Linked DNA regions of Homo sapiens: regions 1, 2 and 4 are each linked to region 3. Evidence: promoter capture Hi-C in 16 types of primary human blood cells and fetal thymus (Javierre and others, 2016). All regions are on one chromosome and are shown on one strand. Each heading gives the region's core, a stretch centred on a gene start or on the middle of the fragment in contact. The rest is flanking DNA. Distances are from core to core; before and after follow the strand shown.

Region 1 (6,772 bases), core at 1,667-4,166, 770 kb after region 3:
GGAAATGATAAAATGGAAAAATTATTTATAGCATACAGAATGGACAAAATAAATAAGACATCATTTAAAATGGTCTATGAGCATTTGAAAAACACATTTAACTTCAATACTAATCAAAAGATTGTATGTTTTTTAAAAATGAAAAGTTTTGCTATAAAATTGGCCAAGATTTAAAAGATTTTATTATATCCAATGTTATCAAAAGTACTTCATGTTATAAAACTATTCTGCTGCTTAAAATTATTTCTTAAGAAGATATATAATAACATGGAAAAATGCTCATATAAAATTTAAATTAAAAATAGAATTTAATAATAAAATGGTTTTTTCTATATCTGTCCAGAAGTATATATTCCAAAGTTTAAATAGTGATTATCTGTATTACTTGAGTTATTGGTGATAATTGGCTTCATTCATTTCTGTATTTTTTAAACTTTTTGTAAAAAAAATTGCAAGTATACAAACTGCTTATTAAATTTTCTTTAAAATCGGGGTATAAAATAATACATATAGTTTGATTAATATTTTAGTAAAAATGAAAGTGTGTGTATATATAATTACATATATTTAAAATTCATATGTGTATTAAAACATATTTTAGAATTTTAATAGTGATTATATGCATGGTTACTTATATGGTTATGTTTTTATGGTTTAAGTAGTGGTTATAGGTGGCTATAGGTGATTATTTTCTTCATCATTCATTTTGTGATTATTTCACTACAGATAAAAATGTATGTGATATATGTATACATTAAAAATTATCTTTAGAAAGATACTTAGTAATACGAAAAAACATTTATGAAAACTTTAGTTAAAAACACAAAAAAACACAACCTAATATATGCAGCTTGTTCACAATTTGGTAGAAATGGAAGCACATGTCTATTTTATTCGTATGTGTATATGAATAGATTTTAAAAACTTGGAAGGGCATGTTCTAAAGTTTTAATTGTGATTATAGTACTGTGAATATAGTGGATAGTTTTCTTCTTCATTCATTTCTAACTTTTTAACTAGAAATCATAAAGCCTACACATATATATCATACACATCAAATTGTATACATTAAATATGTGCAGTTTATGCCAATTATATCTCAATAAAGCTGATAAAAATGTATAATGCTGTTCAATAAAACAAGTTTATTGTTTATAAAAAGAAACATGAATAATTTTAAAACACAAAATATTCACTTTTTACTAGCTCAGTGCCCATTTGTACGGTTGGTTCAAAAGTAATTGCGGTTTTTGCCATTAATTACTTTTAATACAATACCCAATACATTTAAAAATATTTGTTCGCTAGCATTTGGCACAGTTATGAAATAGCATTTTAAACAGGTTTTAAAAGTTTGGATCTGCACATTCTTTGCAAGGTTGGTAGGGAGGGGTGAGTGGGGTAGAATATTACTACTTATCAAGATATGTTAGTCCCTAAAAAGAAATGAATATCATGTCCAAGAAGCTGACTACTTTGTGGAAACATTCAGCTATTTATTTTTTCATTACAAGACGGTGATTTCTTATGATTAACAGATTTAAGTAAGCAAGCAAGCAAGCATGATGTGAATTTTCAAAAGAAACCACTAATTTAGATCCTACCGTCTCTCGTTAACATGTCCTGTGCTGAAGTATTAAATTTATTGATTACGTGAACTGTTAAATAGTCCATCTGCAATGCAAATGTAACTTTAAAATTAAAAATCTGACATCAATTCATTTTTCTCAAGAGACTTCAGAACTAAATTAAACACTTGATATGAGGCAGCCAGCCTTTTCTGATAAAGCTTTCAAATATCCGGCATGTTAAAAGTGTGCTGCTAGGTATGTGAAAGATGGCACTAGGCAAAGAATGACAGTCTCAATCATTTTTTAATAAAGGAAAATACACAGCTCTCCTGTGAAGCTGCATACTGCTTGACTGGTGGGCAATACTAATATGTATTCAGAGATATGATGATGTATCTGCTTGTCTTGCTGAGCTGTGCAGAGACGTCTTGCACAGATGCTCCCATGTGATAGCTGGCTGTATAGTTTGGTCTGCCTTCCTTGCAAGGCTCACAGTCTAAAACCCCAGCAGCTAATTTTTAAATACTAATGCATAGCACAGACCTAAGAATGAATAGAAATACTCATCCCTGAGGCATGTCATGAGTTGATTATAATAAAAATTGCTTAATTATTTATTGGTAGTTGCTTTATAAATTACTCTCTGGTTTTGCTGGAGGGCATAAACTGTGAGATGGGAGAAAAGAGTTAGAGAGCTGAAATAGTCAGGGGACACTGTGGTTAAGGGTTTCCCATACTACACAAATGCCTTTGGACTTTATCCTGCAAGTGCTGTGGAAACAGGAATCTTTTAACAGGGAGTTGAAAGGTCAGAGTTGTGTTTTCTCTGTGTAATGGAAGATGGATTTGAGGGGAACGAGAAAAGAGGCAGGTAGTAACTAGTTAAGGTGAAAGGCTGAAGTGAAAAGTTGCAGTACTGCCGAAAAAGAAGGGAGGAAGCCCCAAAAACAAAGGCTAAAGAAGTAAAGCTATAGAAAAACATTTAGGAGGATATGGTAGTTGATTGGATGTGAGAACCAGAGGTAAAGGAGAGGAAAGAATTGTATTTTCTGTTTTGTATAACTGGGTAAATAGTAGTAACCCCTTTAGCTGATACTGAAATCACAGGTGCTAATGCAGATTAGAAGAGGAAACATTAAGTGGCTGATTGACCTACTTTTCCTGATGCATGCATGCAGTCACTCAGCAATTTTATAAGAGCAATTGTATAGACAAACATACAATAAACAATGACAGCAAAATTATAAACAAAGTGCTCCAACTAAATCACAAAGGGCCAGGAAAACATGAGAATCTTTTTATGAAGCTCATATTAGGGACATGGACAAAGATGTAACAATTAGATTATATTAATTGTATTTGTTATGTTGCAATGGGAATGATTTTACTTGCTATAATAATGAGCTCTGTTATAATGGGTATTCTCCTTGATCTCACCTATTCATTCATTAGAATGAGGTTTTATTCTTTTCCTTTCACAGAGTAAATATACAATAAGATCAAATAAATTTTGATGATTGCCAACAGATGGTGAGGGGCTCAACTTGAGGACCATCTGATCTTTGGCTTTTCAGTTCTTTCCGGCTGTTCTTTCTACTTAATTACCTTCCCCTCACTTCCTAATCCCTTCCATGTAATTCTACACCAAGACTGGGTCTAGCACTATTAATTTTCCACAGCCTACGCTGTTTTCTGATAAGATATTCTTTCTTAGCTGGTTGCTAATGGACCTAAACAGTCTGGTTTTAGCAGAACCTTTCAATCCTATTTGAATCATGTCTTTGCTCAATTTATTAATTCAGTTTAATGCAGAGAATTTAAAACTTACTCTTACAATTTAATCTCATTTCAAATCTGACACAATGAATCAACCACCAGTGATTTTACATAATCAAAGAACCATTTCAACTAACCTGTCTTTAAAATCCTTCTATGTGAGACATATATTTTTTTCAATCATTAAAACAGGCTTACTAGAGTGATATATGTGTTTCAGTAACAAATTTCCCTCATTACCTGAATGCATCTCTGCATCTTTTGAGAATGAAGCAGAGAAAATATTGCTGTAATAGATATTTTAACAATATATCACGGAAGCACGAAAGATTAGGAATGTCTAAACACTCAGAAAGGACCTCCTAGGGCAATTTTCTAAAGATTTTTTTATGTATATTTATATAATCCATATCTAGACAGAACCTTTTTTTCCTTGACAGGTGTATTTTAACAACCAGTTCAATATAAGGAGGCTGTCTCCGTGTTCTGTTCAATAGTCCCTAATAACACTGCTTTACCAAGGGAGACGAATAAAATTTTGTTGATTGAAACATACTGCGTCATAATGTGTTCTCATGTTTCCGTAATGTTTAGCAGTAATTTAACAAAGTGCTTGTTCATTTGAATCAGAAATTGTACATCAAAACTATATATTGTTCTACATGTAGCCTGCATTCATAATACAATAAAGCTTAGTTTTAAATATACCATCTATGTTTTGTGAATGCTAGTTAAAAATAATCCTAGTTTCTTCTGATAATGAAAGTAATATATGTTTATGTTTTTTTGAAAAATGCAGACAGATTAAAGAAAAAACCCTGGCAATATGCATCACCTCACTAGAGATAATGGTTATTAATATTTTTACATACATCCTTTCTGAATTTTTATGCATATCTGTAAAAAATAAAAATTTTTAAGCAAACTTGAACTTGTATGTAATGATTTACATGGATAATCACTGCACACATTAACTTAGATGAATTTTACTCTCTCTGTGTGTGAGACAGACAATAATTTAATTAAATTTTTAAAATTTCTCTTCATTTAGCTCATGAATATATGCTTTGGAATAAGCATGAGATGGGGGATAGGAATTTCTTTTTTCTTAGTCAATTCCAGTTTCTGTGTGTCTCACATGGTGTGTGCAACTTGCTACAGTGACTATGATTCTGATGGCAAAAATACATATTTTTCTTATAACATGGTCTATACTCAGGCCAACAACTTTCATGCACAATCACAGAAACAGCCATGTATTCTAATACTAAAAGAAAAACTGTGTGGAAGTTATGGTATTTGGTCTTCAACCTAGAGATTTTCAAGGGTAATGTTGATTATGCAAAACTTTTTCTCCATTATGTGCTGGTTTTAAAACCTAACTTCCTGCATGGGATGCAACTCCCCTGTAATCTATACTTGTTTATTTTAGCAAATAGCTATTAATTTTCTTCTATAAGTATATTTTGAGAACATTTAAAATACTGGATTGCAATCCATCAAATGGATGCACCATATCTACTTAAACCAATCCACTATTATTAGACATTTGGTTAATTTCCAATGTTTTGTTATAAATAAAGCTATGACAACTGTTGCGCTTGAGATATGATATGAGGGTCAGTCATTATATTTGCACATGGACTTAATGCTATTGTAGTGTCTTTCTTTCAGGCAATTTTATCACTCCCATGCTAAGATATAGGAAGAAGGGGGATGTGACTTCCCAATAACCAGCTGGGGGTTGCCTTCACTGGAAGAGAAGGCAATAAAACGGGATTTTAGAAAAATAACCTTTTGGTGTTTTTTGCAGACACCTTTCCATGACACCTGTTCAGAGGGTTGGATTTGCACATAGTCATGTGAACCAGTTCAAAGAGTGTATTTGTGTGGCTTTTTGAGAGCTGCAGTGCTCTAGTTCCTTCTGTCAGCTTTGCGCTGCAAATAGCCATGGCATTTCCCAAAGTTAGAAGACTTCTGTGATTCACGTGCTTGTTCCTCAGACCCACACAGCTCTCCCTCCAAGTTTAGGTTGCCCCAGACAGCTGCATTGGGGGACAGCTACGTGCTGTTCTGATTTGTGCAGTGGAGAGAAAACTTGAGTCTCACAGCTTTATGAGAAGCCTTCATATGGACTCTACTGGGTCAAAGTCTTTAGAAAAATCAAATATTAATTTATTAGCATTCATTCCTTGTCCAAGATATAAACATTTTTAAGGCTTTTGATACATACCGATAAATTTCTCTCTAGAAATTTTGTACCAATTTATACCACATCAACTGTAGATGAGAGTGATCTTTTGTCTAAACTCTTATCAACCTATTATTTTGAAAAGAAACAGCCAGAGATGAAGTGAGCTTTTTAACTTCGTGTTTCTTTAATTTCTAAAGTAACTGGACATTTTTTGTGCATTTTAATGAACTTTTGTTTTTTGTTATTGATGTTCTTTGTCTCCCCCAACCCCTCTTTTTTTCTGTACAAGCATTAAAAAATGATGTCTAAGAACTCTTTCTAAGTCTTTATCTAAAAACAAAATGCTCAAATTGCATGAAGAAGCATATATATATATATATTTTTTTTTTTTTCTTTTCTTTTTTTGAGATAGAGTCTCACTCTGTCACCCTGGCTGAGATGCAGTGGTATGATCACTGCAGCCTCTACCTCCTGGGCTCAAGCAATCCTCCTGCCTTATCCTCTGTAGTAGCTGTGAGTACAGGTGCACACCATCATACCTGGCTAATTTTTAAATTTGTGTAGAGACAGGGTCTCACTATGTTGCCTAGGCTGGTCTCAAGCTCCTGGGCTTAAGTGATCCTTTTGCTTCGGCCTCCCAAAGTGCTGGGATTATAGGTGTGAGCCACCAGGCCTGACCAACATATATATTTTCAAGGAGAAAGGAGTGCTAGGAAGAGTGTGAGATGGGTAGATACAAAGCAGGCATTCAAATACAAAGTATTTGAATTAAATTAAGTTTCTGTTTTATTGAGAAAAGTTATAAAACATTACAACTTTTGTGATGCAGTTTGTAATAGAGATGTTATTTATGGTCTTTCATACCCTTGCCCCCTTTAAAAATTGCCCACGCAGAGCTTCTGATGTCTAGGTGGCTATGTTTTATATCACACGACTCTCATGATGGGATACCTACCCAAATGTCAGCACTTACTAGGCTGTCTAGAGATTTATGAACTATATCAGAATCTCTCTCTTAGAAATCAAATAATAATAATGATGAAAGCCAATTAATAGCAGATATGAAAAAAACATGCAGAATGTGAATGAACCAGATTAGTGGTGAAGCTGTAGAGGAAAGAGTTGAAAAAGTCACAAACTCCTGCTCCTGAGATCTCTGAAGCCATCTTAAATAGAGAGCCAAGCCTGTCATGGTGGTGTGAGCCTGTAGTCCCAGCCACTTGGGAGGCTG
Region 2 (5,817 bases), core at 2,113-4,612, 740 kb after region 3:
ATCTGATACGATAGTAGCACCATTCTTGTTTTTTATTTGTTAATGGTTTGAAAATGTGGAGGCTTTCATACATGGTGGAGTTAAATGACACAGTGATCTCCCAAAGTTTGGGAATGAAAATTCTGATTAATCAGATATTCTGACTAGTACAGAGTTGATTTATATATGATTAGCTATGGATTACACATTTTTAAAGAGTTTGTATTGAGTATCATCAATCCTAAAGCTTCCTTCAATAAGTGCAGCCAATATTAATTGAACACTTCCTTTGTACCAAGTGCTATGTTAAACAACTTACATGAAATTTCATTTAATTTTCTAAACAGGTCTGTAAAGTAAGCTTTTAAAATCATCATCTCACTTTACATGTAAATAAATTGAGAAGTCATGTAGGTAATCACTGAAACTCAAGCCCAAGTTTGGGCACTCGAAACACATGCTCTTATACATAAGTTGATTATATTTAAATATAAATTGATTATCCTTTGAAGATTCAGAAAGAATGACTCATGACATTATTGTGTTCCAAAGACATCATTAAGAACACTACTACTTATTATGATTGCATTTATCATGTCTTTTCTATATGCTAAACATTGTGCTATGAATAGAATTATGCTTCGATTGTGAGCAATTCCAGTTTTAAAAAGTTGATTCAAAACACCTAAACAAATATTGTTTCATTATTTCTATTCAGTTTCACTAGACTTGCTACTCTGTGGTTAGTGATTCAGAATGAAAAGTGAATAAAGCAAAGGTCTTGCTTTTTAGGAGATTATAATCCCAGGTAAAGTGGTTGCTCTGGGGGTTAATGTGTATAACTTTTTACTCTTAATTTAGAGTTAATAGGGTACCTAATTTAGAGTAAATAGGGACATTTAGCCTACACAAAATGTGGAAACTTTACTATCATATAGGCTTAATATTCCCCCACCTATCCTTTATGTGATATAATGATATGATCATATATCATGATGTATTGTGCATTATATATAGCACAATTATCATGTATGATTACATCCACATACACTATAAATCCTCAATAAGTTTTATAGTTTTTGACCTAAATACCTAGATATATTTTAAAGAGATTAAGTAGTAGTTTTTTATATTTACCCAGATATTATATTTCCAAGCATCTTCATTCCTTCCTGATGATCTGAGTTTTCAGCTGGTATAATTTCTCTTCAGTTTGAAGAATTTTATTTAGGATTTCAGCAGATTTGCTAGAAGACACATTTTCCTAGTTTTCTTTTATTTGAAAATTGTATTATAGTATTTCACTTTCAGTCCAATAGGATATATTTGCTGCATATGAAATTCTGAGTTGACACTTTTTTTCCAGAACTTTGAAGATATTTGTTTATGGAATTATGGCCTACACAGTGTCAGATGCAAAATCTGGGATGATTTGAACCTTATGTAATTATGTTATTCTTTTTCTGGCTTCTTTCAAGAGTTCTCTTTTTCTCTGGTTTTCAGCAGTTAAGACTACGATGTATTTACACATAGCTTCTTCATTTATCATGTTTGAGGGTCACCGAGCTTTTTCAAGCTTTATATTTATGCCTTTTACCCAATTTTGGAAAAATTTGGCTAATTTTTCAAATTTTTTTTGCCACATTCTTTCCTGTCATTCTGTGATTCCAATTATACATATGTTATGTCTTTTGATATTGTCTTAGAGTTCTCTGAGACTCTGCTCATTTTCTTCCAATCTTTTTAATTTTTTTGTCTATTCTTCAGATTGGACTATTTCTATTGTATTATCAAGTTCACTGACTAGTTGCTCTGTCATCTCTATTTTGCTGCTAAACCTATATAATGATTCTTTTTACAATTTCAGACATTTTATTTTTTAGTTTTAGAATTCGTTAGCTTATTTTAATAAATATTTCAAAATATTTCATATTTTATTTATCTTTACTGAGATTTCCTATTATTTTATTTATTGCTAACATATTTTTCCTTATTTCACTGACCATAGTTATAACAGCTACTTTAAAATCTTTGCCTACTAATTCCAACTTCTGTATCATCCAGGGTTGGTGTATATATTTACCAACATTAGTATAACAATATTCTATCTTTTCTGTCGAGAAAAGTAATACTTCCTGTTTTAAAAATATATTCAGTAATTTCTATACCCTGGGCACTGTCAGGGTTATATTGTGCATTCTTTTATAGTCTTCCAAAAGTTCTGATTTTTTTTTCAGATATTAAACTCGGGTGGACTCAAGCATCAAACGCTGTCTCTTGTGTGGCAGCTAAAATCACAGTTAATTGTTAAGAATCTTTATCTCGATTTTGTCTGGCAAGTGCATCATTTAGGAGTCAGCTAAAGTTAAAAAAACGTATATTGAGATATAATTTATAATTTTACATAGCATAAATTAACCAAATATAAGTGTACAATGTGATAAATTTTGGTAAATTTGTGTATTTGTGTAAAATTACCTCAATTCTGTTTTAGAACATTTCCATCACCCCCTAAAATTTATTTGTGCCCATTTGTTGTTAATTTCCACTCCCACCCATAGCCCTAGGCAACTGTGGATCTACTTCTGTGTGTATAAGTTTACCTTTTCTAGAAATTTTCTGTTAATAGAATGGTACACTATATAGCCATTTGTGTCGGTCTTCTTTCACTTAACATTTTTTTGAGGTTCATCTATGTTGTTGAATACATGAGCAGTCTACTCTTTTTCGTTGCTGAATAGTATTTTATTGTGTGCCTATACCTCATGTGTTCATCCATTCATCAGCTGATGGGCATTTGGATTACTACCAGTTTTGGGCTATTTTGAATAATGCTGTTATTAACATTTGCGTACATGTCTTTATGTAGATGTATGTTTTTATTATTTGCCTTATCTGCTTTTAAATCCAAGTATTAGATTCTTATTTCAGTTATCTTTTCAACTTCTACAATTTCCACTTTATTTTATTTAGTAGATTCCTTGTTTCTTATGAATTCTCCATTCTTTTCTCAATTTTCATGAACATATTAAACATTATTATTAGTTTATTATTGTTTGTAGAAACAAAGTCTCACTATGTTGCCCAGGCCAGTCTCAAACTCCTGGGCTCAAGCAATCCTTTTGCCTCAGTCTCCCAAAGCACTGGGATTACAGGCATGAGCCGCAACACCTGGCCATAATGTTATTTTGAGGTCTCTAATGATAGCTCCACTATTTGGGTCATCTTTACTTCCATTTCATTGTCAAATCTTTCCTAGTTTTTTGTTATATGTTCCAATTTCTTATCTTGCCTAACAATATTTGATGGAATACTAGAGATTCTGTATGAAAAATTATACAGGCCTTAGATGACGATATCTTTCCCCAAAGATAATTTAATTTCATTTTGGCAAGTAGATAGAGATATAACAGGTCACTTTTATCTAGTCAAGAGTGGATTCCAAGAGTGGATTCTATACTGTGATGGAACTGGTCTAGTTTTAATTTGCCTTTATTCCTTATTTTTTACTTCTAAGGTATAACCTTTTTATGGTCTCATGTGAAATCATGGGGGTGTTTCCTGGGTCCCCTCTACTTTTGTGAGCCCTGAATTATAATCTATATGCCCTTGGTACTACCATACTGCTAAAATCTTTGCTTAGCTCTTTGGCATACTGGTACTTTCTGCTAGATGTTTAGGAGTCTTGCTTTGTGTATATGCAGTTTTGGGGATGGCCACCCCTTGCAAGGAAATTGCATGCAGAATTTCACGCTTACTTTTATGTGTTTTCTTCCCCAAATTTTAACTCTATTACATGCCCTCACCCCCAAACTCTGTTTCTTCAGCCCAGTGAGAGTGTCGTAAGCCAGGTTTGTCTTTCTTTTTAATCTCTGTTTCTCTCAGATGCAAATTTGCAGATGTCTTGAAGGGAAATACAGGGCAGAATCTCACTTCAGTGTGTTTTCCTTCTCTCCCGGACTGCTGCTTCTCAAGTCCTGTCTGCTGGAAGTGCTCTTGAATGTTGTCAAACTATTGTTTCATGCATTTTATAGTTAACTTGGGCAAGAACTGCTCTGATATGAGCATTTCTGAAATAGCTGCAAGCAGAGTTTTCCCAATTATTTGGAAAAACATACAAGAAAATCCCTACTTTTTGCTGCAATATACTTCTGTAATATAATTCCGTCAAAGCAGTGAGTAATTTTTTTAATCAGATGCTTCTATGGTGCTTCAATTTAGAGTTTCATTTGTGACCAGAAGGCTTGACATCAAATAAATCCCAAGTTATAAATCAACTATAAAATTTACACAAGAATATAATAATTTAAAATTGTAAATGCAGGCTAGATTTCTTTGTGCAGCATAGAAAGGACCTCAACATATGTGATGTGTAATGTATTAAAGAAAAAATTTTATTGTACTAATATTGTGCTCCATTGTTAATATATCAGCTACTATTGGCATTTAGTTTATTATATTTTTATCTTAGAATGTAAAAAAAAATTAAGGAATGACAATTTGAGTGGCCCAGTTCTTTTTAAAAGGTCTCTAATACAGTTAAATTACTTGCTACATTTTATCTAAATAAGACCTTTATTGAGAATTGAATTATTTTATTAATCTTACTTCTAACCAAAAATATTATAGCACATAAAATATTTATTGATATTGCTGTTGATGACTATCAAGATGCTGCTTCTGCTAAACATTATTTTAAAAGTAATGATTGGCTGGGCACAGTGGCTCACATCTGTAGTCCCAGGATTTTGGGAGGCCGAGACAGGTGGATTGCTCTAGCTCAGGAGTTTGAGACCAGCCTGGACAACAAGGTGAAACCTCATGTCTACCAGAAATACAAAAAATTAGCCAGTGTGTGCCTGTGATTCCAGCTATTCAGGAGGATGAGGTGGGAGGATCACTTGAGCCAGGGAGGCAGAGGTTGCAGTGAGCTGAGATCACACCGCTATACTCAATCCTGGGTGACAGAGTGAGACCCTGTCACAACAAAAGTAAAAATTGACTAATTATTTTTCTCTTTCTTACCCTTGTCTAAGGTTTTGCAAACTGTAAGTATAGCTATTACATATCAGAACAGGAAATAATTTTTGCCTATTCACTATCATTGATACTTTGACAATTATCAAGAGGCTTAACATTTTATTATAATCTGCATGAAAAATGAACATTTCCTTTAAGAAAGAAGCTTCGGCTTGACTTATAGAATTGCAGAAGTAGCTATGAAAATGTAAAGATTATATAAAAATGTTGTTTGTAAGGGAAAATTTAAGACTTTGGAATGCACAAATGAGATTACTGTATATAAATTCAATGCAATGCTAGAGCCTTTGGGGGTTATTGAACATGTAGGGATATGCGATTTTGTCTTTAGCTAAGCTATTTTACTACTCTGTATACGGTAAAGTTAACTTGAAACAGGTAGCAATGCAAATAATTCTTGCCTATAGACATGCAAATAAATTCTATCTATGAGGGGAAACACCTTTTCTCCTGTGGAAAACTCAGTTTTGCAAATTCATTTCAATATTTCAGATTCATAAATTTGTCTTCTATGAGGTCTCTTTTGAACCCATTGCAATAGGTCTCTCGATCAATTAAAGAGTTAAATAACATCTTTGACATGTGTTAATCATATATTTGTATGAGAGTCAAGTTTTTACTTTTTTGAAAATGACTATAATTCATACCATATATACATTCAGATGAGGATGGAATTTAGGTTGATAGAACAGGTGAAATGATGATCCGTGAAAGTGGGAAAGACAAGAGTCTGCTTCCTTCTCTGGGCTTAAAATATAGATTCACTCAACACAGGAAACAGGTCCACAAAATCACAGA
Region 3 (6,782 bases), core at 1,128-3,627:
ACCTAGGAATCCCAACTTACAAGGGATGTGAAGGACCTCCCCAAGGAGAACTACAAACCACTGCTCAACGAAATAAAAGAGGATACAAACAAATGGAAGAACATTCCATGCTCATGGATAGGTAGAATCAATATCGTGAAAATGGCCATACTGCCCAAGGTAATTTATAGATTCAATGCCATCCCCATCAAGCTATCAATGACTTTCTTCACAGAACTGGAAAAAACTACTCTAAAGTTCATACGGAACCAAAAAAGAGCCTGCATTGCCAAGACAATCCTAAGCCAAAAGAAGAAAGCTGGAGGCATCATGCTACCTGACTTCAAACTATACTACAAGGCTACAGTAACCAAAACAGCATGGTACTGGTGCCAAAACAGACATATAGACCAATGGAACAGAACAGAGCCCTCAGAAATAATACCACACATCTACAACCATCTGATCTTTGATAAACCTGACAAAAACAAGCAATGGGGAAAGGATTCCCTATTTAATAAATGGAAAACTGGCTAGCCATATGTAGAAAGCTGAAACTGGATCCCTTCCTTATACCTTATACAAAAATTCATTCAAGATGGATTAAAGACTTAAATGTTAGACCTAAAACCATAAAAACCCTAGAGGAAAACCTAGGCAATACCATTCAGAACATAGGCATGGGCAAGGACTTCATGTCTAATACACCAAAAGCAATGGCAACAAAAGCCAAAATTGACAAATGGGATCTAATTAAATTAAAGGGCTTCTTCACAGCAAAAGAAACTACCATCAGAGTGAACAGGCAACCTACAGAATGGGAGAAAATTTTTGCAATCTACTCATCTGACAAAGGGCTAATATCCAGAATCTACAAAGAACTGAAACAAATTTACAAGAAAAAAACAAACAACCCCATCAAAAAGTGGGCGAAGGATATGAACATACACTTCTCAAAAGTAGACATTTATGCAGCCAACAGACATATGAAAAAATGCTCATCATCACTGGCCATCAGAGAAATGCAAATCAAAACCACAATGAGATACCATCTCATGCCAGTTAGAATGGCGATCATTAAAAAGTCAGGAAACAAAAGGTGCTGGAGAGGATGTGGAGAAATAGGAACACTTTTACACTGTTGGTGGGACTGTAAACTAGTTCAACCATTGTGGAAGACAGTGTGGCGATTCCTCAAGGATCTAGAACTAGAAATACCATTTGACCCAGCAATCCCATTACTGGGTATATACCCAAAGGATTATAAATCATGCTGCTATAAAGACACATGCACACGTATGTTTATTGTGGCACTATTCACAATAGCAAGGACTTGGAACCAACCCAAATGTCCAACAATGATAGAGTGGATTAAGAAAATGTGGCACATATACACCATGGAATACTATGCAGCCATAAAAAAGGATGAGCTCATGTCCTTTGTTGGGACATGGATGAAGCTGGAAACCATCATTCTCAGTAAACTGTTGCAAGAACAAAAAAAACAAACACCGCATGTTCTCATTCATAGGTGGGAATTGAACAATGAGAACACTTGGACACAGGAAGGGGAACATCACACACCGGGGCCTGTTGTGGGTGGGGGGAGGGGGGAGGGAAAGCATTAGGAGATATACCCAATATAAATGACGAGTTAATGGGTGCAGCATACCAACATGGCACATGTATACATATGTAACAAACCTGCACATTGTGCACATGTACCCTAGAACTTAAAGTTTATATATATTAAAAAAAAAGAATATTTCCTGATTTTTCACTCCATTCTCATTGTCTAGTCACCCACTCAAGAAACATCTAAAATCCTTCTCTAGATTACTCATATGGCGTCTGTGTTCCTTACCTTCAGGCTCTCACCTTGTCAGGTCATTGGTAATATTGCTGAAAAATTATTCTTCCTAAAATTTTGACCAAAAAAATCATTATTTGCCAATAAAATATTTTCCGACAACTCAAATCCATTCTTTAGTTTTTATCCCCTTCCTTTTAGAAAGTATACTCCAGAAGCTGGGACTCTATTTCCTACTATAGGAGGCAGACTCCAAAATGACCCCAATGACCTTGCTTTCTGGGTGTTCATGCCCTTGTATAATCCCTTCCCACTGAGTGAGGGCTGAATGACAGATTTCCAACAACCAGAATACAACAAAAGTAATGGAATGCCACTTCTCAGATTAGTTGAAAAAAAAAGACTGTGATTTGTGCCTCTTTTGTCCTCTTGCTCTCTCTCTCTCAGCCCTCACTATTGGGAAGCAAGTTGCCATCTTATGAGCAGGGAGAGGCCCACATCCCAAGGAGCTGATGTTTCTGGCCAACAGCCAGTGAGGACCTGAGGCCTGCCAGGTCACATGAGGGAGCCTGGAAGTGGGTCTTCTCAGTCCTGCCAACAGCTGTGAGTGAGCATGGACGCAGATCCTCTCCCAGTGGAGCATTTGGATGACCACGGCTCTGGCTAACACCTCACTTACAGCCTTGGGAGAGATTCTGAGTCAGAGGCATCCAGCTAAATTGACCCACAGACACGGTAATGTACAAATATTTCTTCTTTTAAGTTGCTAAGTTTTGGTGGTAGTTTGTAATGCAGCAAATTGAAGAGGGATGCTGCCAAAACAAATACAGAAAAAAACAGGGAAGTGGCTTGGAAACAGGCAGTGGGCGAAGGCTAGGATTCTGAAGAGTGTATTGGAGCAAGACTAAATTGCACTGCACAGATTGTGAGTGGAAACTGGAAGGGAGCGTGCTTATTATGTAGTGACACAAAGCTTAGCAACATTATCACCTTCTCTAACGAGAAAGTAGGAAGTGTTCCTTGTGAACAGGGTGATCTGGCTAAGTAGACTTCTAAACACAGTGGTGAAGGTGCAGCCTGATTTCTTCTTGCTGCTTGTAGTAAAATGTAAAAAGAATAGAGTTCAGCTGAGAGTACTATTAAACAGAAAGGAATTCTTTCTGTTTAAACAGAAACTTGATGGTTTTCAAAGTCTTAAAATTAAGTCTACAGTTAAGAAATGGCTTCCAAACAGAGTTCAAATCCATGGAACTGCCAGAAGAATGCGGTTTAAAAATGAAGCAGAATGTATAACCAGGCTGGGCGTGGAGGCTCACACCTGTAATCCCAACACTTTGGAAGGCTGAGGTGGGTGGATCACTTGAGGTCAGGAGTTTGAGACCAGCCTGGCCAACATGGTGAAACCTTGTTTCTACTAAAACAAAATACAAAATTAGCTGGGAATGGTGGCACTGGCCTGTAATCCCAGCTACTTGGGAGGCTGAGGCATGAGAAACGCTTGAACCCGTAAGGCAGAGATTGCAGTCAGCCAAGATTGCATCAATGTGCTGTAGTCTAGGCAACAGAGCAAAACTCTGTCTCCAAAAAAAAAAAAAAAAAGAAAGAGAAAGAAAGATAGTACAACCAATAAAATCTTAAGAATTCTGCCCTTAGGAAATTCAAATTTTTGAATAATGAGTGATAAACAAACCTGTCACTGCCTAAAGGGACATACTGTCTCCCAATGATACCAACATCATTGGAAAGATAATCTGAAACATAGGCTGCTGGTGCTGCTGCTGCTCAAAAAACAAGCAGAGAAGGGAGAACCCATGGAGGAATTGTCTCCAAACAACGTCCACCCTCATTTCTACACAGTCTTGGCTTGAGGTGAATTTTCTCCGAGTATGGCATTCCCTTGGCCACACTGATCAATGTAACCAAGAGTGGCTAGGACCAAAGCCATTCAGTCTATCTCAGAGCATATGATTAATACTACTATCAATAGGATTCCAAGCAGCAGAATTAGTCTAACTTTCGGCATTGATAACAACTATATTCTCTAGGCTCCCAGACCCAACTGGTTAAAGAAATCCCATAAACCATCAGGATATACCTTAGAAACCCAGGACTTTCTCCTTAAGCTTCTGTATTGACCTTTCCACTTGGCCTAAGGTATTGAACCAGGTACAGCAGGATCAATAATTACATAGACTCAAACCTTGGCATACAAGGAGGAAGTCTAGGGGTTAGAGCAATTCTACTGTCCAGAAAAACCCTGGCCAAAAGGTTGAGGCTGACATGACTGCCTTCCAGGACTGAGGTGGTACCAATAACCACATTACCTAAAATCAGGAACCATTTTCATAAGATCTTATCTGATTAAATGACTTTAATCATAAGGACAATTGCCTGTAGGGCTCATACAAATAATAAATTAGTTATCCCTCAGGAAAGCTCCCTTTAGTAACTAAGAGTAGCCTCATTTTGGAGGGATCTCTATAATCATCTGAAGGCTACATGATCTAATGGTGGTCTTTCTTTAAATACATATATATATTTTAAAATTCTTTAAAATATCCTAAAGAAAAGATTTCATTTTTTCTTTATTTTTAAGAAAAGACTTCTTACAAAGGTCTTTCTTTGGTGATGGATATCCCAAGTAAACGGATTTGATCTTTACAAATTAAATGAATATATTAAATTGTCACATGTACCCTGAAATGATGTATATCTTATGCATCAATAAAAATATTTTTAAAAGAATCACCTGGAGATCCTATTAAACTGCAGATTCTGATTCTATTTTTAAAAGCCTTTCTTTAAATACATTTAAATATATAAAAATTCCTCTAAGGTGCAGCTACATAAGCAGTTCAAAGAATGTGACCAGTTGCCACAATTTGCTTCCACTGTTTGCCATCCCAAACTTTTTTTTAATTGATTGATTAGAGACAGGGACTCATTCTGTCACCCAGGCTGGAATGTAATGGCACAATCATAGCTCACTGCAGCTTCAAACTCCTGGGCTCAAGTGATCTTCCCACCTCAGCTTCCCATGCAGTTGGGACTATAGGCATGCAGCAATGCCATGCCGGGCTTTTACAAAATTATTTTTTTAGAGACACGTCTTGCTATGTTGTCCAGGCTGGTCTTGAACTCCTGGCCTCAAGTTATTCTCCCACCTCAACCTCCCAAAGTATTGAAATTCCAGGTGTGAGCCACCACTCCTAACCCTATCTATCCCAAACTTTTATATGTCAGTCTGTAATTTTAGGAGTGACAGACCCAACAAGTCAGTCGTAATAGACCCAGAGTTAGTAAAAATATAACATGTTTCATCAAGGGGAGTATTGGCCAGTGATATAAATGGGCTTGAGTGCTGCCTATTGAGCAGAGTGGCCATGTCCATTCTGGTGTCTGCATAACTAGTGCTGAGATTGAAAAACCAGAAGACAACATTGAACAACTTGGCAGAACTATCAGTGAACCAATACCAGGGATTTAAAGAAAACCTATGAATTGAAGACATCATCAAGCCAAACTCCCTGTTTCAGGAGGCAGAGAGACAAAGTTTTAATCAAACAGAAGGCTACCACTTGTAGCCAGGTTGGCAGCTTTCTGGAATCTGTCATTTCTATTTGACAAACAATGTTTGTTGAACCCTTCCAATCCTGTTGGTCATGAGTTCAAGTTGACCCATCTCAAACTGAGAGTATCAGGCCAAAGGTATTGTCTGTCCATGGGTCAGACATTCAATTTCTTTTTATTATTATTTTTAATGTTTTTTTTTTTTTATACTTTAAGTTCTGGGATACATGTGCAGAACATGCAGGTTTGTTACATAGGTATGCATGTGCCATGGTGGTTTGCTGCACCCATCAACCGGTCATCTACATTAGGTATTTCTCCTAATGCTATCCCTCCCCTAGCCCTCCACCCTCTGACGGGCCCCAGTGTGTGATATTCTCCTCCCTGTGTCCGTGTGTTCTCATTGATCCACTCACACTTATGAGTGAGAACATGCGGTGTTTGGTTTTCTGTTCCTGTGTTAATTTGCTAAGAATGATGGTTTCCAGCTTCAACCATGTCCTTGCAAAGGACATTAACTCATCCTTTTTTATGACTGCATAGTACTGCATGGTGTATATGTGCCACATTTTCTTTATCCAGTCTATCATTGGTGGGCATTTGGGTTGGTTCCAAGTCTTTGCTATTGTGAATAGTGCTGCAATAAACATACGTGTGCATGTGTCTTTACAGTAGAATGATTTATAATCCTTTGGGTATATACCCAGCAATTGGATTGCTGGGTCAAATGGTGGCATGTGCCTGTAGTCCCAGCTAGTGAGGAGGCTGAGGCAGGAGAATCGCTTGAACCGGGGAGGCGGAGGTTGCAGTGAGCTGAGATCATGCCACTGCACTCCAGCCTGAGCGACAGAGCAAGACTCTGTCTCAAAAAAAAAAAAATTTTTTTGAACACACCCTTCATTGCCACAGCTGCTTGTGCTACAGAAAATAAACAAAAACAACAAAAATATCCTTTCAAATAAAAATAGAAACCAGAAATATCAAATTAATTTTTATTTTTTATGCCTTAAAATTGTGATGATTCTTTTACACTATCGTTATTGGATCTTTTGACAGGTTGCCTTGAAAAGGATTTAAATTTTTTATCATACATATTTACTGTTTCCACAGCAAAATAAGCTGCTTGTGAGCATAAAATATATTCACCATGTCTTAATATTCTTAATTCAATTCCATTTAATACATTTACCTACTTATAAAGAGAGAAATGCTATTGTATTTAAGTCCCTGATAAATATATTCTATATGAGAAGGGAACCAGTGATCTTTTTTCCCACTGAGATCCTGAACTAAACGGTCGACAGACCAAAGTGGACCTCTATAATTCAAATGTCACACTGCAAATTCAAACTGGCAGTCTTCCTTGAGTTTCATTTTACTTGCCAAGAGAACAATGAAGTACTTATTCTGATGCCAGTAGAAC
Region 4 (5,948 bases), core at 2,444-4,943, 790 kb after region 3:
AAAATGAGACTGGCAAAGAACAAATGCTGAATCTGAAGAAGATTTGGGCAAATAATCTGCATACTTTTAATTGGGAATAAGATGGAAAATATGAATGCTAAATCAAATTTTTTAAAAAATACACCACACGATACAACTCAATACAGGAGTATTTCTTCTCAAATTCTTCTAGCACCATCAACATTCTTCAAGTATCTGAAATACTATTAATTAGCACCTTTGTATTATGAACAAAACAAAACAAGGACCTCAGTTCATCTCTGTCTAGGTCAGCACCTAACAATGTGGATCACACTCATGGGAAAGTGTTTTGAGGTAGTTTAAACCTTTGGAAGTTTGGGTTTTAAACTTCCCTCTGTGGAAGATATTCAAAAGCCACAAGTGGTGCAAATGTTTATGGTTTTTATTTTTCAATTTTTATTTTGGTTTTCTTACAAAGGTTGACATTTTCCATAACAGGTGTAAGAGTGTTGAAAAAAAAATTCAAATTTTTGGGGGAGCGGGGGAAGGAGTTAATGAAACTGTATTGCACAATGCTCTGATCAATCCTTCTTTTTCTCTTTTGCCCACAATTTAAGCAAGTAGATGTGCAGAAGAAATGGAAGGATTCAGCTTTCAGTTAAAAAAGAAGAAGAAGAAATGGCAAAGAGAAAGTTTTTTCAAATTTCTTTCTTTTTTAATTTAGATTGAGTTCATTTATTTGAAACAGACTGGGCCAATGTCCACAAAGAATTCCTGGTCAGCACCACCGATGTCCAAAGGTGCAATATCAAGGAAGGGCAGGCGTGATGGCTTATTTGTTTTGTATTCAATGATTGTCTTTCCCCATTCATTTGTCTTTTTCTGTTTAAAGAGAAGAAAATAGATACACAAAGCATCACTATTTCTGAATCTGATAATATCTGAACCTTTGATTTAATAAGAACCACTGTTTGGCATGTGTCATTCTGAAGATGTCTGTCCCAGATAAATAAGTTCATCCTTGAAATAACAGTATCAAGGGTGTCTTTAGTGGGAGGGGCTCCCTATCAGTCTAACAAAAAACAAACAAACAAACAAACCAAAAAAACCAACAACATTTCAACACACATTCCAAGTGACCTATCTCTACAAAGTCATTTTTAGGATTGTTGTGTGTATGTCCCTCTATGTGTGTCTTTGGGAGCGGGACCTGGGTGGGTATGTAGTCTTGCTGTTAGTGAATTTTAATTTTTCTTATATTTATAGCATATTGTAGAAAAAGCATTAAAAGTTAAATGTAGGCCATACTAATAAGTAAAATAAAATACACATAACTATAAATTATAGTTTAGGCCACTGAAGTCTCAAGAAATTTTAAGTTCTGGGCACACATTACCATTTAAAAAACATGCTAAAGAAAAAACAATGCATGGACATAGTATACATTTCAGCATTTCAGAAGGCACTATCTGATAAGAATACTCTGAATTTATCATCTGAATTTAAGTACGAAATTAATACGTATAAATAAATAAATATAAAATACATACAAAAACTGAATTTACTTATGAAATAAGTTAGTTCTCTCATTCTTCTGTTCTTTTAACCCCCCTTTAGACCCCCCCTTGGGGGCAGTCTAAGTTAGAACCCCCTCCATCCCACTTCCCAAAGCTATTCCCATATTTCACTATTACTTACAGAGCAGCCATCTACAAGAACAGTGTAAGTGAACCTGCTGTTGCCCTCAGCAACAAGTTCAACATCATTAGAGCCCTGTAGAATGACAGCCTTTTTCAGGTTGCCAGTCTCCTCATCCATGTATGCAATGCTGTTCTTGCAGTGGTAGGTGATGTTCTGAGAGGCATAGTTGGCCAGCAGGCGCATGAAGGCAAGTTGGGTAGCCATTTCCTTGGAAGTCACTCCTTCTACATTATATTCAAACTACAGAAAATAGGATGAAATTCCAGTTAAGTGGAGAAGGACTCAGATACTAAGAGTCAAACATGAAAAAAAAAAAAAAGAAAAAAAAAGATCTCAGGAAGAGTAGACTCAGATCCAAGCTTAGGAAAAGGGTACTTTTAAAGAAAACTTAATTCACTTGTCTTTGAAGTATCAGTTACCTAGATGAACATAAGACCTACTAGACTGAGGCAAGGTCATCTAAAAAAGTTATCTGTTTCAATTAATCCTTTTTGCATATGCTTCTTCTTTAGAATAAGAGAATGAGGAGGTAGAAATTCTGACATTTTTCTTTTTCTGTCATTTTGTAATTTATGGAATTCCAGTAGGCATTCAGTAAAGTTGGTGAAAAGGTTTGATTAAAAATTCAGAAAAGCTGCTCACATTCTGAAAATGCATATGTATGAGTGTGGCATATAGCTGGCCAGTGCTCCTTCACACTAAATGACATTAGTCAGTTTTTTCAATGATTACCAATTAAGTCAAATTTGAATAATAACTTTGAATTACATGGATGTGTCCAATCAATCCATCTTCTAATGTGCAATTTAGGACAAAATTGGAACCCAGGAAAGGAACAGGTCTTTTTTTAATAAGCCCATTTTTGTCAGAGATTAAAATGCAGATAATTAACAAACAGTCCTACCAAAATATTATTTAGCAGAAGGAGAGGTGTTTGTGGGATTCCTCACCTGGCTGCCAGCATTGATAGTTTCTCCTAGCCAGACGTGTTTCTTGTCCTTGGAGCTCCTATACCAGTTCTTGGCTGGGATGTTTTCAGGTTGGGCCCGGATACAGGTTTCGCCAGTAGAGAAATCACAGTATACTTTGATAGCATCCATAGTGCATCCTTGGTTAGGGTCAATCCAGTAGTAACCTTTTAAGAAAATAACATTCAGATCATGAAACTTCTCATTGAGCAGAACACAGATTCTAATAATAACTAATGAAAGATACTGACTCTCATAAGTAACATTTTTGATTGTCTACCCCATATTTAAGAGGAAGAGGGTGGCTATTTTTAAGATTAGACAGTTCCTTCCCTCCCCTCCTCCATGAAAAATCAAATCAGGGTACTTATTACTATGAAAAGTGCAAAAATACATTTTAAGGGAAATGAGGTTGGGTGCTGGTTGGGAGAAGATGACGCTCCATTAATTGGGTGTGATTTCACATAATGTAATCTTTACCCAAATGCATTTTCACTCTAAATGTCAATGGAAACTAATTTTGAAAAGCTCAACTTGTGAGAAGGGTCAGTCTGGTCTGGACATCTTGACCTACCACTGCTCCACTCTGGGTGGCTGAGTCTCAAGTCACGGCATGTGCGAGCTGGGTTCTTTCTAGAGCCTTCAGGAGTAAGAAGGGTCTCAATCTGGTTGTTGAGAGACTTCAGAGTAGCATCAACTTCATAGTCCTTGGGTCTGAGAGAAGGTGCTGAGCGAGGCTGGTCAGCCCTGTAGAAGTCTCCATCGTAACCAAAGTCATAACCACCACCGCTTACACCTGGAGGTCCAGGAGGGCCAGGGGGACCAGGGGGGCCCTGCAAAGGTGAAAGTGAGATAGGAGAGGCTTTATATTTTGTTACAGTGAGAGACATCCATGGCAGCAGATTTTCAGTTGAGCTTCACACGGAAGCATGTTCTCATCAGTAAAAAATAATCAAGTTCACATAAATAAATAACGAGCCCCCAGGCACACTTGCAGGGATGGACTTAACAAGCCCATTGCATATAGACAATTTCCAGATATTTTAGAGGATATATTGAAATGGGGCTAACTTTAATGGGTTGTCAAAGTTGTCTTGGTTTAGTCTGAAGAAAACATTCCTTAGGTCCGTGATCTTCTTTATTATTTCCCCAAATCATACTTACAGCAGGGCCTTGGTGACCCTGAGGGCCTCGAATGCCAGCAGGTCCAACTGTACCAGGATGTCCAGTGCGACCATCTTTTCCAGCAGGGCCAGAAGGACCAGCAGGGCCCTAAGGAAGACAGACACCAGGTACATGTGAGCTGGTGAATCCCACCAAGGGAGCAGCAGCCTGGGGCTCACTGCTCGCTTTAGCCTCTATTTCAGAGATGAACTGTCTTCTCTTGAGTCCACCTACCCTAGGACCAGCAGGACCCACGGAGCCAGGAGCACCTTGATCACCATGGTGACCCTTTAAAGACAGAAGAGGAAAATCACACTTTCAGAGCACATGTCAAGAGACATATTTTTTTTTTTTTTCCAAATTGAATGGGAAACTTTAGTTAAATGGACTCCGGATTGAGAAAATTGAAAATGTAAAGTGGGGCTCTTTTCTCCCATTATGTCTATTATATTCAATTTTTTTTTCACAACCTATTTCAGCAGTGCAATATTAGTCATTCCTCTAATTATGTTTATTTTAAGTGGGGTTGAAGGACATTGTTACCAGGAGATTTTATTGTATGTCTATTTCTATCTCCCTTAATCCTCACCTTTCATGTTGGTATGAAATAGCATTACCTCCAAGAGTGAGATGGAGTTAGCCAGAGAATGGGAAATGGATATTATATAGGCTATACTGGAACAATAGCAGTGAAAATATGAAAATCCTTCTGAGCTGAAGGCCTTCAGGATCAGTTTATGTGCGAGATGGCTACAGTTTACTTACAGCGATACCAGGCAGACCTTGCAATCCATTGTGTCCCTTTAAGCCAGGAAGACCTCTGGGCCCCTTTTCACCGGGCTCTCCCTTATCGCCACGAATGCCTTGTGGGCCCTATAAAGAAACAGAAGGATGGATAAGACTTACCGTTTTAAAAAAATGGCACTCACTTCACCACAAATACTGCTTAATTCGTTTACAAAGGTAACTCAGGACATGTAATGGTTTAGCTAGGCTCTCACCTCTGCTGGTAATCTGCTTTAGTTGTGCTATCTGTAAAGTGGCTAGATCCTTGTAATTGTTTAATACAAACAAGCATAAGAGATTTAAAATAGCTCAAGTTATTTGTATCAATTCTCAGCATGGACTGAAATTTTTAAAAAATATTAAGTCTAGCTGATATATTGTTTATTTTCTTAACAGATGTTTTGGACTGATTCTCTCTAAATGTTAGTGTTGCAAAGAAATCTTCAGCATGTACATACACTAGGACCTCTTGGGCCAACAGCACCAGCAGGACCAACAGGACCAGAAGGACCCTGTGAAATGAAAAAGAAAAACACAACTTAGCTAGGCCCAAGATACCCCTCCCCACTCCTCCACCATCCCCAAGTGTGGGGAAGTCAGAAGTGAAGCCCACGAGAATGCTGCACTGAGGGACTGGTATTCACAAACTTACAGTTTCACCACGGTTTCCATGTTTGCCAGCAGGACCCACGGGGCCATGAGGACCAGGTGCACCTGCAGCACCAACGGGACCAATATTGCCAGGGTAACCGCGCTCTCCCTACCAAAGGCAAAATGAAGCTTAGCATCAATCTGGGTTGCATTTTAATCACTTTTGAATTAGAGAAAGATGAAAAGTGTACTGACCTTGTGTCCGGGTTGACCATCGCGACCTGGGGGACCATCGTTCCCAGGGTTGCCCTGTGAAGACACCACACAAATTAAGGCTGTTGGTGAGGCTCTGCTGCCTACCAGCCCCTATGTTGTAGCTACTCTGTCTTCATCACTTCCAGTGCTCAGTAACGAACCCTCTTTCAGACTGTTAAAACTAGGGATAAAAACCTGCCAACCTAGATATTTTTTAGAGATGTTTTAAATACTTGGGCCCAGTTTTGCAGTGTGCTATTGAAAAGCCCATTCTTTGGCCTAAGCAATTTTCATATTTTCAGTACTAGGTGTAGATACTATGGAGAAGCTGACCATCTTGTTCAGAAATTTGGAAGAAGAGAACCTCAGCTCAGGACATAAAGTTTCACACAATGAAATCCTGCTCAGTTTTATTTTACAAACCAAGTGTTGGACTCACATCACGACCAGCTTCACCAGGAGCACCGTTGACTCCAGGACTACCCACAGCACCAGGAGGACCACGGGCCCCAGGAGGGCCGG

Evidence for each region. Contacts are between HindIII fragments. The CHiCAGO score rates a contact against its expected background, and 5 or more counts as called.
Region 1: a fragment that was not itself captured here is called in contact with the fragment with the promoter of PPP1R9A-AS1 in region 3 in 7 of 17 cell types (M0 macrophages, M2 macrophages, naive B cells and 4 more); the score reaches 10.4 in M0 macrophages.
Region 2: a fragment that was not itself captured here is called in contact with the fragment with the promoter of PPP1R9A-AS1 in region 3 in 4 of 17 cell types (M0 macrophages, M2 macrophages, total B cells and 1 more); the score reaches 6.3 in M0 macrophages.
Region 4: a fragment that was not itself captured here is called in contact with the fragment with the promoter of PPP1R9A-AS1 in region 3 in 3 of 17 cell types (M1 macrophages, M2 macrophages and M0 macrophages); the score reaches 7.1 in M1 macrophages.

What each region holds. Positions count from the first base shown.
Region 1 is chr7:94,441,409-94,448,180 of GRCh38, reverse strand. No RefSeq gene overlaps it. Among named protein-coding and RNA genes, the nearest start is that of COL1A2, 50 kb to the right of the region's middle. The HindIII fragment of the contact is 2,249 bases long and covers 1,792-4,040 here.
Region 2 is chr7:94,467,658-94,473,474 of GRCh38, reverse strand. No RefSeq gene overlaps it. Among named protein-coding and RNA genes, the nearest start is that of CASD1, 39 kb to the left of the region's middle. The HindIII fragment of the contact is 3,609 bases long and covers 1,558-5,166 here.
Region 3 is chr7:95,209,927-95,216,708 of GRCh38, reverse strand. PPP1R9A-AS1 (PPP1R9A antisense RNA 1) reads left to right here and starts at 2,377. Exons shown (of 4, transcript NR_183324.1): 1 at 2,377-2,524. All of the region lies in intron 7 of PPP1R9A (protein phosphatase 1 regulatory subunit 9A), which reads right to left. The HindIII fragment of the contact is 3,393 bases long and covers 1-2,764 here.
Region 4 is chr7:94,425,142-94,431,089 of GRCh38, reverse strand. It overlaps COL1A2 (collagen type I alpha 2 chain), which reads right to left. Exons shown (of 52, transcript NM_000089.4): 42 at 5,866-5,948; 43 at 5,427-5,480; 44 at 5,233-5,340; 45 at 5,039-5,092; 46 at 4,560-4,667; 47 at 4,029-4,082; 48 at 3,795-3,902; 49 at 3,205-3,463; 50 at 2,613-2,797; 51 at 1,660-1,902; 52 at 1-843. The coding sequence ends at 697. Among named protein-coding and RNA genes, the nearest start is that of COL1A2, 33 kb to the right of the region's middle. The HindIII fragment of the contact is 3,339 bases long and covers 2,024-5,362 here.